Regions from separate parts of the Homo sapiens genome. Here all the other regions are linked to region 1. The links are contacts of gene promoters, found by promoter capture Hi-C in blood cells and fetal thymus (Javierre and others, 2016). All regions are on one chromosome and are shown on one strand. The core of a region is centred on a gene start or on the middle of the fragment in contact, and the rest is flanking DNA. Distances in the headings are between cores, read along the strand shown. Region 1 holds the start of LARP4B (La ribonucleoprotein 4B). Region 2 overlaps PITRM1 (pitrilysin metallopeptidase 1). Region 3 overlaps PFKP (phosphofructokinase, platelet). Region 4 overlaps PFKP (phosphofructokinase, platelet).

The links. The method cuts DNA at HindIII sites, captures the fragments that hold promoters and counts their contacts. A CHiCAGO score of 5 or more calls a contact.
Region 2: a contact is called between a fragment that was not itself captured here and the fragment with the promoter of LARP4B in region 1, in 4 of 17 cell types (M0 macrophages, M1 macrophages, fetal thymus and 1 more). The highest score is 8.5, in M0 macrophages.
Region 3: a fragment that was not itself captured here is called in contact with the fragment with the promoter of LARP4B in region 1 in 1 of 17 cell types (endothelial precursors); the score reaches 5.0 in endothelial precursors.
Region 4: a fragment that was not itself captured here is called in contact with the fragment with the promoter of LARP4B in region 1 in 3 of 17 cell types (erythroblasts, M2 macrophages and total B cells); the score reaches 9.0 in erythroblasts.

Annotation. Positions count from the first base shown.
Region 1 is chr10:930,309-933,107 of GRCh38, reverse strand. It overlaps LARP4B (La ribonucleoprotein 4B), which reads left to right and starts at 1,403. Exons shown (of 18, transcript NM_015155.3): 1 at 1,403-1,680. It overlaps LOC124902363 (keratinocyte proline-rich protein-like), which reads right to left and starts at 1,117. Exons shown (of 2, transcript XM_047426111.1): 1 at 1-1,117. The coding sequence starts at 981. The coding sequence ends at 277. LARP4B-DT (LARP4B divergent transcript) reads right to left here and starts at 82. Exons shown (of 3, transcript NR_120629.1): 1 at 1-82. RefSeq lists silencers at 823-912, 993-1,702, 1,773-1,882, 1,913-1,992, 2,083-2,212. The HindIII fragment of the contact is 3,248 bases long and covers 1-2,799 here.
Region 2 is chr10:3,164,273-3,167,071 of GRCh38, reverse strand. PITRM1 (pitrilysin metallopeptidase 1) reads left to right here. Exons shown (of 27, transcript NM_014889.4): 3 at 30-136; 4 at 692-843; 5 at 1,545-1,659; 6 at 1,738-1,834. Among named protein-coding and RNA genes, the nearest start is that of PITRM1, 7.1 kb to the left of the region's middle. The HindIII fragment of the contact is 2,116 bases long and covers 402-2,517 here.
Region 3 is chr10:3,089,643-3,092,441 of GRCh38, reverse strand. The region is part of intron 2 of PFKP (phosphofructokinase, platelet); the gene reads right to left. Among named protein-coding and RNA genes, the nearest start is that of PFKP, 23 kb to the right of the region's middle. RefSeq lists enhancers at 1-37, 892-1,091, 572-1,771. The HindIII fragment of the contact is 2,141 bases long and covers 334-2,474 here.
Region 4 is chr10:3,069,832-3,072,630 of GRCh38, reverse strand. All of the region lies in intron 1 of PFKP (phosphofructokinase, platelet), which reads right to left. Among named protein-coding and RNA genes, the nearest start is that of PFKP, 3.7 kb to the right of the region's middle. The HindIII fragment of the contact is 2,902 bases long and covers 1-2,799 here.

The sequences.
Region 1 (2,799 bases), core at 154-2,653:
GTTTCCTTTTCTTCCATAAACTGATCAGGGGTAGGTAGAGTATGCTGCTATAGTTCGGAGTCGTCACCATCCTCACGGAAACGGCAGGAGTGTGAACACCTCCCTGAGCTACCAAGAGCATCTGACTCGTTGCAACGTGGGCCCGAACCCAGCGCCTCTAGGAAACGTGGGGCCGGGGCCTTTTGGTCCCGGGTGTGGGTTGGGGGTTTGGGGAAGGGCCGGGGCCTTGATCCCAGGTGTGGGGTTGGGGATTCCGGGGCTGAGCCGAGGCCTTGGTTAGGGGTGTGGGGCGGGGGTTCGGGGCAGTGCCGGGGCCTTGGTCCCGGGTGTGGGGTTGGGACTTCGGGGCCGGGACCTTCGTCTCAGGTGTGGGGCGGGAGTTCGGGACAGGGCTGGGGCCTGGGTCCCTGGTGGGGCGTTCGGGGCAGTGCCGGGGCCTTGGTCCCGGGTGTGGGGTGGGAGTTTGGGGCAGGGCCGGGGCCTGGGTCCCGGGTGGGGCGTTCGGGGCAGGGCCGGGGCCTTGGTCCCGGGTGTGGGGTGGGAGTTTGGGGCAGGGCCGGGGCCTGGGTCCCCGGTGGGGCCTTCGGGGCAGGGCCGGGGCCTTGGTCCCGGGTGTGGGGTGGGAGTTCTGGGCAGGGCCGGGGCCTTGGTCCCGGGTGTGGGGTGGGAGTTCTGGGCAGGGCCGGGGCCTTGGTCCCGGGGGTGGGGTGAGGGGTTCGGGGCAGGGCCGGGGCCTTGGTCCCGGGTGTGGGGTGGGAGTTCGGGGCAGGGCCGGGGCCTGGGTCCCGGGTGTGGGGTGAGGTGTTCCGGGCAGGGCCGGGACCTTGATCCCAGCTGTGGGGTGGGAGTTCGGGGAAGGGCCAGGGCGTGTCCTGGGTGGCCAGGGTCGGGGCCTGGGTCCTGGGGGTGGGATGAGGGGTTCGGGGCAGGGCCGGGGCCTTGGTCCAGGGTCTGGGGACAGGCTAGGGCCGGGGTCGCCATCCGTCCTGGGCGGCGGGCAGGGGTCTTTAAGGGGCGCACGCGGTGGCGGAGGACCAGGGCCCAGCCCTCCGGAAGTCAGGGCCCACACGGCCCCCCAGCGTCAGGCGCTCCGGTCGCGCCGGGGACGGCGGGCGGGGCGGGCGGGGCGGGCGGGGCGGACGTGCGGCGTGCGCGGGGCGGGGCGATGTGCGCGCACGCGCCAATCGCAAGGCCGCGAGCAGGGTGTACGCGCGGAGAGGCCAAGAAGGCGGCGGGGCGGGCCGAGCGTCGGGTGCGCCCAATCAGCGCGCCGCAACACCATGACGTGAGGCTCTCCCGGGGCTGAGCGCCAGTCCGCGGGACCGGCGGGTGAGTGCGCGAGTTCAGGGCGCGAGGCGCGGGTCCGCGCGGGGGCGGGACTTCCGCAGGGCCCCGGAAGTGGGAGCTGTGTGTTCTCATGCGAACGGGAAGGAGCGTTGGGGATCTGGAGTCCCGGGGTTGAGACATTTTCGGGCCCGAAAGGGGAAGAATCCGCCGCCGCCGCCGCCGCCAGCTCGCGCCCGCCCTCTCCCCTACCTCCGGCCCGGCCCGGCCCGGCCGCGCCGCCTCTCCCTGCCGTCTCTCTCCTCGCCGTCCCCGCGTGTGGCGCGGCCGCCGGGCCCCGGGGTTGAGGCGAGGAGCCCGCGGGCGGCCGGTCGGGCGGGGCGGCGGCGCTGACAGGTGAGGCACCCTGGGCCGCGGCGGGCCGTCCCTCCCGGCCCAGCTCGGACCCGCGCCGCGCCGCCTGTCACTGCGCCGCCATCTTCCCGGAGGACGCGGCCGCGGCGGGCAGGGCCGGGCCTGGGCCGGGGCCGGGGCCGGGGCAGGGGAAGGCCGGGGCCGGGTTGAGGAGGACCGGGGCTAGGGCACGGGAAGGGCCAGGGCTGAGGAGGACCGGGGTCAGGGCCAGGAAAAAGCCGGGGCTGAGGAGGACCGGGGCCGGGGCAGGGGAAAACTGGGGCTGAGGATGGCCGAGGCCGGGGCAGGGGAAGGCCGGGGCCGGGGCTTAGGAGGACCCGTTGAGGCGAGGCGGGAGTCGACGGAGCTGGGTGCCCGGAAGACCGGGCCGGGGTCAGGGTCGGGAGGCCGGGGTTGGGCGAAGGCCGGCGAGGACGGGGGTCGGGCAGGGCCTGGGCGGGGCCGGGGTCGCGGGCCGCGAGCGCCCCCAGGCCGGGCGGGCGCCGGCACCCGCAGTGCGGCGCCAGCCTTGCCACTCGCTCCTCGGTCCCGCCGGAGCCCGGATAGGCGGCCGTGCGGGTGCGGGGCGGGACGGGTCATCAGGGCATCGCATTCCTTTAGAACCAGGAAGTTGGGATCCTGTTGCTCGGTGTGTGTTTGGAACGCTCCTGTTTTCCTGTTGATAGACTTGAGCAGAGGTGGATCTGAAGGAGTTAAAAAAATAAAGTCAGATGTGAAGATTGCCTGTGTTGGTCTTGGGGCTGGGATACATGGGCGGCAGAGAAGCCATCGGAAAGCTGCTGCACCTGCCTCTCAGGGTGCGCTTGGGAACGTGAAGAGTCTTTCCGTTTCAGTGCCGTTGTGCGTCGAAACTTCATGCGAATGTAATTTTGCTTTTCCCCTTATTTTTACGTAAAACGTTCTTAAAACTTGGCTGAGATGAAACTTGAGAAACCTAGCTGTAGAAAACTACCTCCTATCTGGCTTTCGTTTGAGATTCTCTAAGTGGATGCCCAATAACTTGTCTTAATAGTAAATTGGAAGTTTGAAGTTTTGGATAACTGAGAAAACAGGAAGGTTTTCCTTGACAGGGCAGTGGAGTTTGTAAGTATAAACAGTATG
Region 2 (2,799 bases), core at 210-2,709, 2.2 Mb before region 1:
AACTGGTCGTGTTTTTCTTGTTAACTCAGGTGACATCTGTTCCCGAGCTGTTCCTGACTGCAGTGAAGCTCACCCATGATGACACAGGAGCCAGGTATTTACACCTGGCCAGAGAAGACACGAATAATCTGTTCAGGTGTGTGGTGCATTGTAAGAACATGGTCTTGAATGTTTTTATTTAAATCAGGAATGTCCATTCTTTTGGCTTCCCTGTGCCACAATGGAAGAAGAACAACTGTCTTAGGCCACGCATAAAATACACTAACACTAAGGACAGCTGATGAGCTAAAAATAATAAATAAAGGACCCCTCAATGTTTTAAGAAAGTGTATGAATTTGTGTTGGGCTGCATTTCAAGCCATCCTGAGCATGCGGGCTGCAGGCTGCGGGTTGGACAAGCTTGATTTAAAACATGGCTATACATTACGTGGTTTAAAATATCATCTCACTAGTATTTTTATTGACAGAGCATCTTGAAAAATAAGGAAAAGTTTACACTGACTTATAATCTCATCAAAATACAATTTTACAGTCTGAGTCAATGATTTACATTATAGTTGGAAAACCCTGTGCTGGAGGATTGTGGTGTCAGAATGATGATTTCTAGTAGCCTGAGGTGATGATGCATCTGGGAACTGTGTCCGCAGCACTAAGCTGAACCTTTTGCGTTCTGGTCATTCTCCTTCCCTAGCGTGCAGTTCCGTACTACTCCCATGGACAGTACTGGTGTTCCTCACATTCTTGAGCATACCGTCCTTTGTGGGTCTCAGAAATATCCGTGCAGAGACCCTTTCTTCAAAATGTTGAACCGGTCCCTCTCCACGTTCATGAACGCCTTCACAGGTAAGACCAGCATCCTGAACAGAAACTGCTTTTGGGTTTGCCAGGCACACCCACTGGAATTCAGTTAGTTTCTGAGAAGGAATGAGGGGAGTGGGCAATTCATGTTCTAGAAAAATTTTTACCTCTCTCTAGTTGAAGGACATTAGAAATTTAATCCTTCAGGAAAGCCACATGGTAGCGAGATTGTAAAAACTAGCGTTTTAAGAAAACATATGTGAACTTTTCCCAGAAAAGTTCAAAACAATTTTCTCTTGGAGATATCGCTACAATGCCAGAGTTACTACTAATGTTGATGTTTGACTTTTAGTAAGACTGACGATAGTGGATAGGGTGACGATGAACAGTGCATTCTGTGGGGGAGTGACATTGAAGAGCGGGTTAAATCCATGCTGTTACAGAATGAGGTCATCTTTGTAGATGTATGAAAGTCTCTGGAGAAACTTGAGAGAGTTTAGATATTCGCTGAAGAAAGCCCTGGTGCCCGTCGAGTGCAGATCCTGAGACGGGATGGGAAAGCCGGCACTTGGGGTTATGAGCTGGGACAGCTGCTGAGGCCAGGGACCAGAGCATGGGGCCACTGCCCCATCCCAAGAATAGCTACAGCTTACTGTCCTAGGACAAAGGGGGAATGAGTCTTGAGAGTCAATAATTTTAGTAGAAATCTGTTATATTTTACAATTTCACTTTTCATTTGTACCCAGCTAGTGATTATACTCTGTATCCATTTTCCACACAAAATCCCAAGGACTTTCAGAATCTCCTCTCGGTGTATTTGGATGCCACCTTTTTCCCATGTTTACGCGAGCTGGATTTCTGGTATGTCATGAATGATTAACTAGTTGATACAGACTTTAGTATTTGAGTCACTATCAGCTTATAATGATTTGTCCTCAGGCAGGAAGGATGGCGGCTGGAACATGAGAATCCGAGCGACCCCCAGACGCCCTTGGTCTTTAAAGGAGTCGTCTTTAATGAGATGAAGGGAGCGTTTGTAAGTTTTCTTCCTTTTTTATGTTGTGTTCAGCTTACCTTTCCCATGTACAATATCATGATATAGACACATCTGGAAGATTTTATTTAATATTCTCATTATAGGTGATACATTCTTGAATTAGCTGGGGTCAGTGCTGTGAGCAGAAGTCGGGGTAGCAGGGCCAGGCTGCTGTTCTTCCCAGCAGGTCTCAGACCATGTCTGGGGACCCCTGGTATGTGATCTGCAGCAAGTCTGTGAGATAAAAGCTATTTTCATACCACTACCAAGACAGTGTCTTTTCATTCATTCTTGCCCAAGTACACGGTGTACTTTCTAGAGGCTGCATGGCAAGGTGTGTGACACACAGCGAGCTGCATACAGAGCAAATGGGGGAGTCCAGCTTCACCTCTGAGCCAGACGCTACAGAGATTTGCAAAAAAGGCAACACAGCACCACTCTAATCAGTTTTTTACTTTGTTATGAGAAGTATTTTTCAAAAATATTTATATCAACATGTAATGATGGCTTACCTTAATGAATAAGTATTTTTTAAATGTCTCAGCTTTAATTTAGAATATAGAAAAATTATATAAACACACACAGGCACCTACACAGGCAAAAACGCCCACATAATCAAAAGCTGTTTGGGTCCTCATTAAAACGCATTTATGCCTAGTGTTCCATTATTGGCACCCTAAGCTTGTGGGAGTTATTTATGTCCTACAGCTCAAGGTCATCGCCAAGGTCTGATTTTTTACAAAAAAATTGCAACCTCAGGCATAAATGGGTTAATTTTTCAGAGTGTAAAGGATTCTTGAGACCATTTTGGATTAAGAGCTGCTGTCCTGGGCCCATGTCTTCATGTCCCTTTGTGACTTGGACAACCTGTCTGTCCTGGTGTCCCTGAGGCTCATGGGTGGCCTGCTCTCTGATTCCCGTAGCTCCTCTCGGCTGGTGAACTATTTCTTACCTTTTCATTCTCA
Region 3 (2,799 bases), core at 155-2,654, 2.2 Mb before region 1:
CTCCTATCTAAGCATATGTTTGCACCCATCCACCTCTCTGCATCCCCTCCTGTCCACACCCCCTTCCCAGCCTCTGCTATCTACATCCTCCTCTCTACCTCCACGAGACCAACTAAAGAAGGGAAGCATGATGCCAATCAATTCATTGATAAGTTAATGGTTTGTTTATTGGTATAGTAAGTCAAGCTGTAATGCTCAGGGCTGAAACAAGGGAAGCTAAGATCACATGCTGATATTTCAAGCTCAGAAGGGTTGGCCAGTCTGGGTGCAGGGACAGGGCTGCTGACCGGGGGCCATGGGGAGATGGAGACCCTCGGGCACCTGAGCTAAGCTTGGGGGCCGGTGGCGGGGGTCAGGTGGCACAGGCTCCATGGCAGCACATCTGGGAAGACCAGAGGCTGGATGCTGATGCTGTACCAACACCCTTTATCCTTTCAACATAAAAAGGCATCACTTATCTGACACCTTTTGAATGTGTTATTTTTAATCATGGAAAAAACTAGCGATAAAATGATCAGAATTATTCCTAGCCTTTCTTTAGGGTGTGGACTATGACAAAGACAGCTCTGATATTGTTTACAAACAGCTGTCTAGAGCAGAACCAAACTTTAAAACAAACAAAAAATTAAGATAAAAGACTTTTTTCTTTTTCTTTTTTGACACAGTCTCGCTCTGTCACCCAGGCTGGAATGCAGTGGCGCAATCTAGGTTCACTGCAACCTCCACCTCCTGAGTTCAAGCCTCAGCCTTCCAAGGATTACACCACGCCCAGCTACCTGTTGTGTTCTTAGTAGAGACGGAGTTTCGTCATGTTGGCCGCGCTGGTCTTTAACTCCTGACCTCAAAGGATCCATCCGCCTCAGCCTCCCAAAGTACTGGGACTACAAGTATGAGCCACGGTGCTCGGCAAGAATCTTAAGTGAGTCATATTTGAAGAGCTATAATAATATGAACAATTTCTGAAATCTGCAGAAGAATATTCAACAACAGGATATGAAATTCATGAATGAAACCAAATGCAAGGAGCCGACTGTTTCCTGCAGACACAGTGGCAGCCCTGGATTAACCAACTGACTCGCCCCAGCTTGGTTTGGACCCACCAGAGCCAGGGTAGTTTACCCTGGGCATGGCCTTTGGGTCAAAGCATCTGATATACTTAGTATCATCATCTCCAAGAAGCTAAAGCCATTTGTAGGCTTCTAAGGAAAAACCTTAGCTTAAGAGAAAAAAGAAAGAAGCAACAATTGGTTCACCAGGTAGAAAGGAATGGGTTAACTGGCAAACCCTCCCCGAGTCTCCCTGGAATGCAGCCCAAGGCTTGGCATGCTTCACACGTAGGCTTGGCCCAGGTTTATAGGAGCTCAAGCAGCGGCCAGACAGCAGAGGTCCCTCGATGAAGGCCAGGCTTTCAGCAGAAACGCCACTGTTCCCAGGTTAATACTTTCTTCACACATGCACTACTGAAGGAAAAAACAAACCCCTTTAATTAATAGTAACCTGTTTAACTGTCCTGGTCTGTTGGTAACCCAGAGAGCTCTAGGTTAGAAACTAGAGTATAGGTGAAAAAAATCTGTTGGATAAATTACTGAGTCATCCTTAAAAAAATAAAACATAATATCCCCTCAATTTGAGCCCAAATAGGTCTAGAACAGCGGTCCCCCAAAAGAGTGATTTTCCCCCCATAGGACGTTCGCCGATGTTGGAGATACTGTAAGGACATCTTTGACTGTCATGACTATGGGGTAGGTGGACACAGGGGTGCTGCTCCGCATCCTGAGAGTCAAAGGACCGCCCACCAAGAATTGCCCACCCCAGATGCCATCGCCCTGACACTCAGAGAGAAGCCCAGCCTGTGGGTATGACGCAGAGACCAGGCCGGGGAGGGGGCTGAGCCTCTTCAGTGCAGAGCCATCTGTGAATAGATGTGTTCAGGTGCAGACCCCGTTTCCCTACCTGGCCACACACCCATGGAGTCAAAGGCATGCGCGTCTCATCCCTGAAAAGCAGTCAAACAGCTCCTCTGCCCCGTTAGTCTCAGACTTTTCCAAGTCCTTTCTACCAGGGAGACAGGAGGGCAAACACCATTTCTACTGCACAGATGAGCACACAGAAATGAAAGGTTGATTTATGCATCCACAGTCACTGCAGTACGTCCTGCAGGCCCACGATGGCTCACCCAAAACCCAGGTCTGAGAGGCAGGCCAGGACTCAGAAGACTTGGGATTTTAAAAAGCAGGTTTTCTAATGGCTTAAAAATATTCCATTGCGTATATACGCCACATTTTATCCACGCACCCACTGATGGCCACTTAGACTGATTCCACATCTTGATACACAATGGAATATTATTCAGCCAATAAAAAAGAATGAATCCTGTCATTCTGAGCAACATGGATGGAACAGGCAGAAATTAGGTGAAATAAGCCAGGCACAGAAAGACAAATACTGCAATCTCTTACTCATACATTTAAGCTTAAATAAAAAATTGATCTCATGAAGACAGAGTTAGGATTGATCTCGTGGAGACAGAGAACAGAATGATGGTTACCAGAGGCTGGGAAAAGTAGAAGGAAGCAGGGGTGTAAAGAAGGATGGTTAATGGGTAAAAAACAGTTTGAGATAGAAGGAATAAAATCCAGGGATGAGTGATACTATGGAGCGACTACAGTTAATAATGTATAATAATGTTTAATAATATATAATAATGTTATACATAATGTATAACATTGTATACGATATGTATAATACATATATAATTCATATTATACATAATGTATAATAATATATACATAATATATA
Region 4 (2,799 bases), core at 128-2,627, 2.1 Mb before region 1:
TTCGAGTATGGCACACAAAACGGTCTGCATTCACAGAAAATGATGCCATTACACAAATCTCCCACTGTGCCACATGGTGACACCATCATTCCAACACACTGCCTCCCAGACCCAGTAATTTTTGCAAAATTAATTACTGCACTTTACACTGAAAAGATCCCATCAAATAATGTATGTACACAGGAAGGTAACGGGCCCAGAGCCGTGGGAGGCAAAATGGCGCTGTTCTCAGTTTCCCCTTCCACCCTACTGGGCTCCGAAGCCAGCATTGCTTCAGACACCAAAGGTGCCCATGTGGGGCTCAAGCCTGGTGTCCAATAAATATGTGTGTCATTGACCTAATGCACGTCCAGCCAATGGAAACCTCACACTTCTGACTTCGGTTTTAAGGTTCTAATCTTGAAGTCTTAACAGTTTACACATATTGACCTGAGGATATTGGATACTTTTAATTAGAGAGGGTTGAATTCCTCTAAAGGACTTCATGGACGAAGAAGACAGCTAGAACCCCTGGTTTCCTGCTCCTCAGTGGAGATTCCAGGCAGGAGGCAGGCAGCAAACACTTGCATTCCTGCGAAGCGCCAGGCATGGTGCTGGGCGCGGGAAAGACACCAGTGAAGACGCAGGTACGCGCAGCCCTGAACATCCCTGCTGCAGCCACAGGGCCCGGCCCCACCACGGAGCTCTGTGAACTCAGGGAAGGTGGTGCAACTCAGGCGCCCCTTGCTCATGTGTAAAATAGGGATAAGTCATTGCCCAGGATCACTGAGGCCCTGCCACATAACAAAGAGTCATTAATGCTAGTTATTCTCACTAGGATTGGAAAGGTTTGTACTTACTCAATTTATGTGGACTTTCTATAAATACTGTATTGATATTCACCTCACCACAGGCAAAAAGGACGCAGCTTTCACATGCAGCCTACCCTAAGGATGCACCTGGACTTCCCAGTACACTCAGCTCCACCAGGCACCAGGACCTTCAGAAGCCACAACCTGTGACTAAGACAATGAGTCACTCTTGGTGTGTGGCACAGTGTTCTGTGGCAGTGGGGACTTAGTCATGGTAAGTCCGCCATTCAGAGTTATGGAGCTTATTTCAGATTGAGTGAAAATCAATTTAAGTTTCCAGACATGTCTTGGGACAACAGAAGATACATAAAGAGGCAGAAGAAGAGAAAGAAAAAAAAAAAAAAAAAAAAAACAGCCTGAGACAGAAGATATCCAAGCAAGTAGAAAAAACAAACAAACAAACAAACAAAAACAGCCTGAGAAATACTTTCTTCATTCAAGGCCCGGGGAGTCGGGAATATAGAAAAGAGAAAGAGATTTTCAATTGTATCTTATAATTAAATAATATACACTCTACTGAGAGAAGAAAAAGCAGCCCATCACATAATATCGTTCTTGCCACCTGGACTCCTATCACTATAAAAAGGCATTTTCCGTTCCCCTAACAAAGCCACCCAAAGAATATCTGTGTAATTTTGGGCAAATCGGGTTTTGCTCACTTTTGAGCATTAACTAGATAAAGCAGCTTCACCAAGAAAGGTCCCTGAAAAACATGGTGGAGATGGTGGAGGCCTGACACAATGGCTCATGTCTGTAGTCCCAGCTCTTTGGGAGGCCAAGGCAGGAGGATCACTACAGGAGGCCAGGAGTTCAAGGCCAGTCTCGGCAGCATAGTGAGATCCTGTCTCTACAAAAATAATAATAATAATAATAATAATAATTAGCTGGTCATGATGGTGCATTCCTGTCTTCCCAGCTACTCAGAAGGTTGAGGCAGGAGGATCACTTGAGCCCAGGAGTTTGAGGCTGCAGTGAGCTATGATGGCACCACTACACTCTGGCCTGGGTGACACAGCCAGACATAAGTACTCTTCGTGGTCTACGGGAGAGTACAATATTTGGAATTAAGATCTGTTTTGCTCCTATCACAATCACGTATGCACCTCATGCCCTTACCTAACTTACTTTTCTTTCTGAGTCTTTCTCCCCACTTCCAAAATGAGGACACGCCTCTCTTGGGATCATGTATTTAGGCTTGGAGATAAGAAGTGTAAAGCTCTTAGAATACAAAATGTTTTCAACAAATGGTAGCTATGATCATCTTAATATACGGAATTTTACCATAATTTCACATCTGACAGAAAATTCCCCTGAAATTAATACGTGAATGTGAATATGTTCTCTCATCTCTAGCTACAAGCAATAGTCTTCTATGTCAGGGAAAATCAAGTACTAACATAGAATCAGAATAAAATGGTAAAAGAATGGGGACACTGAGATATTCTCGAGGAATAACCTACTTACTGTAAGGGTTTGTAAATCTGTGGCAGCTAAGACCAGGCCCTCTGAGTACATCTGGAGGTGAACTTCCTTAAAAGAAATGCGTCCAAATGCTCCAACAGGTTCAAGATCGTATCACCGAAGGGTAAAGCTCTTTACAGAGTCTACAAAAAAATTGTGACTTCAGCTCTGCCAGGGAAAGAGTGCCCAGGCGACCCGCCATGGCGGGCTTCCCCAGGGACAGCCCAGGTGTGACCCATGTGGGCTCGAGGCCACCATATTTGATGCCACCTGCAGAGCTGAGGGCAGCTGTCTCCTATTAACCCGAGGTTGCAGCAACCAAGCCGCGTTCCCCACATAATATTGGTTTCCAAAGTATCATTTTCCCCAGAAAAGAAGAGGCGTGGACTTACTAACCTTCAATATGTCTAACTCCTCCCAGGTGGCAAAACCAGGGTAACAGAGAACACCGCGATTCTGCCAATGTATCCTAATCTCACATGCCTGT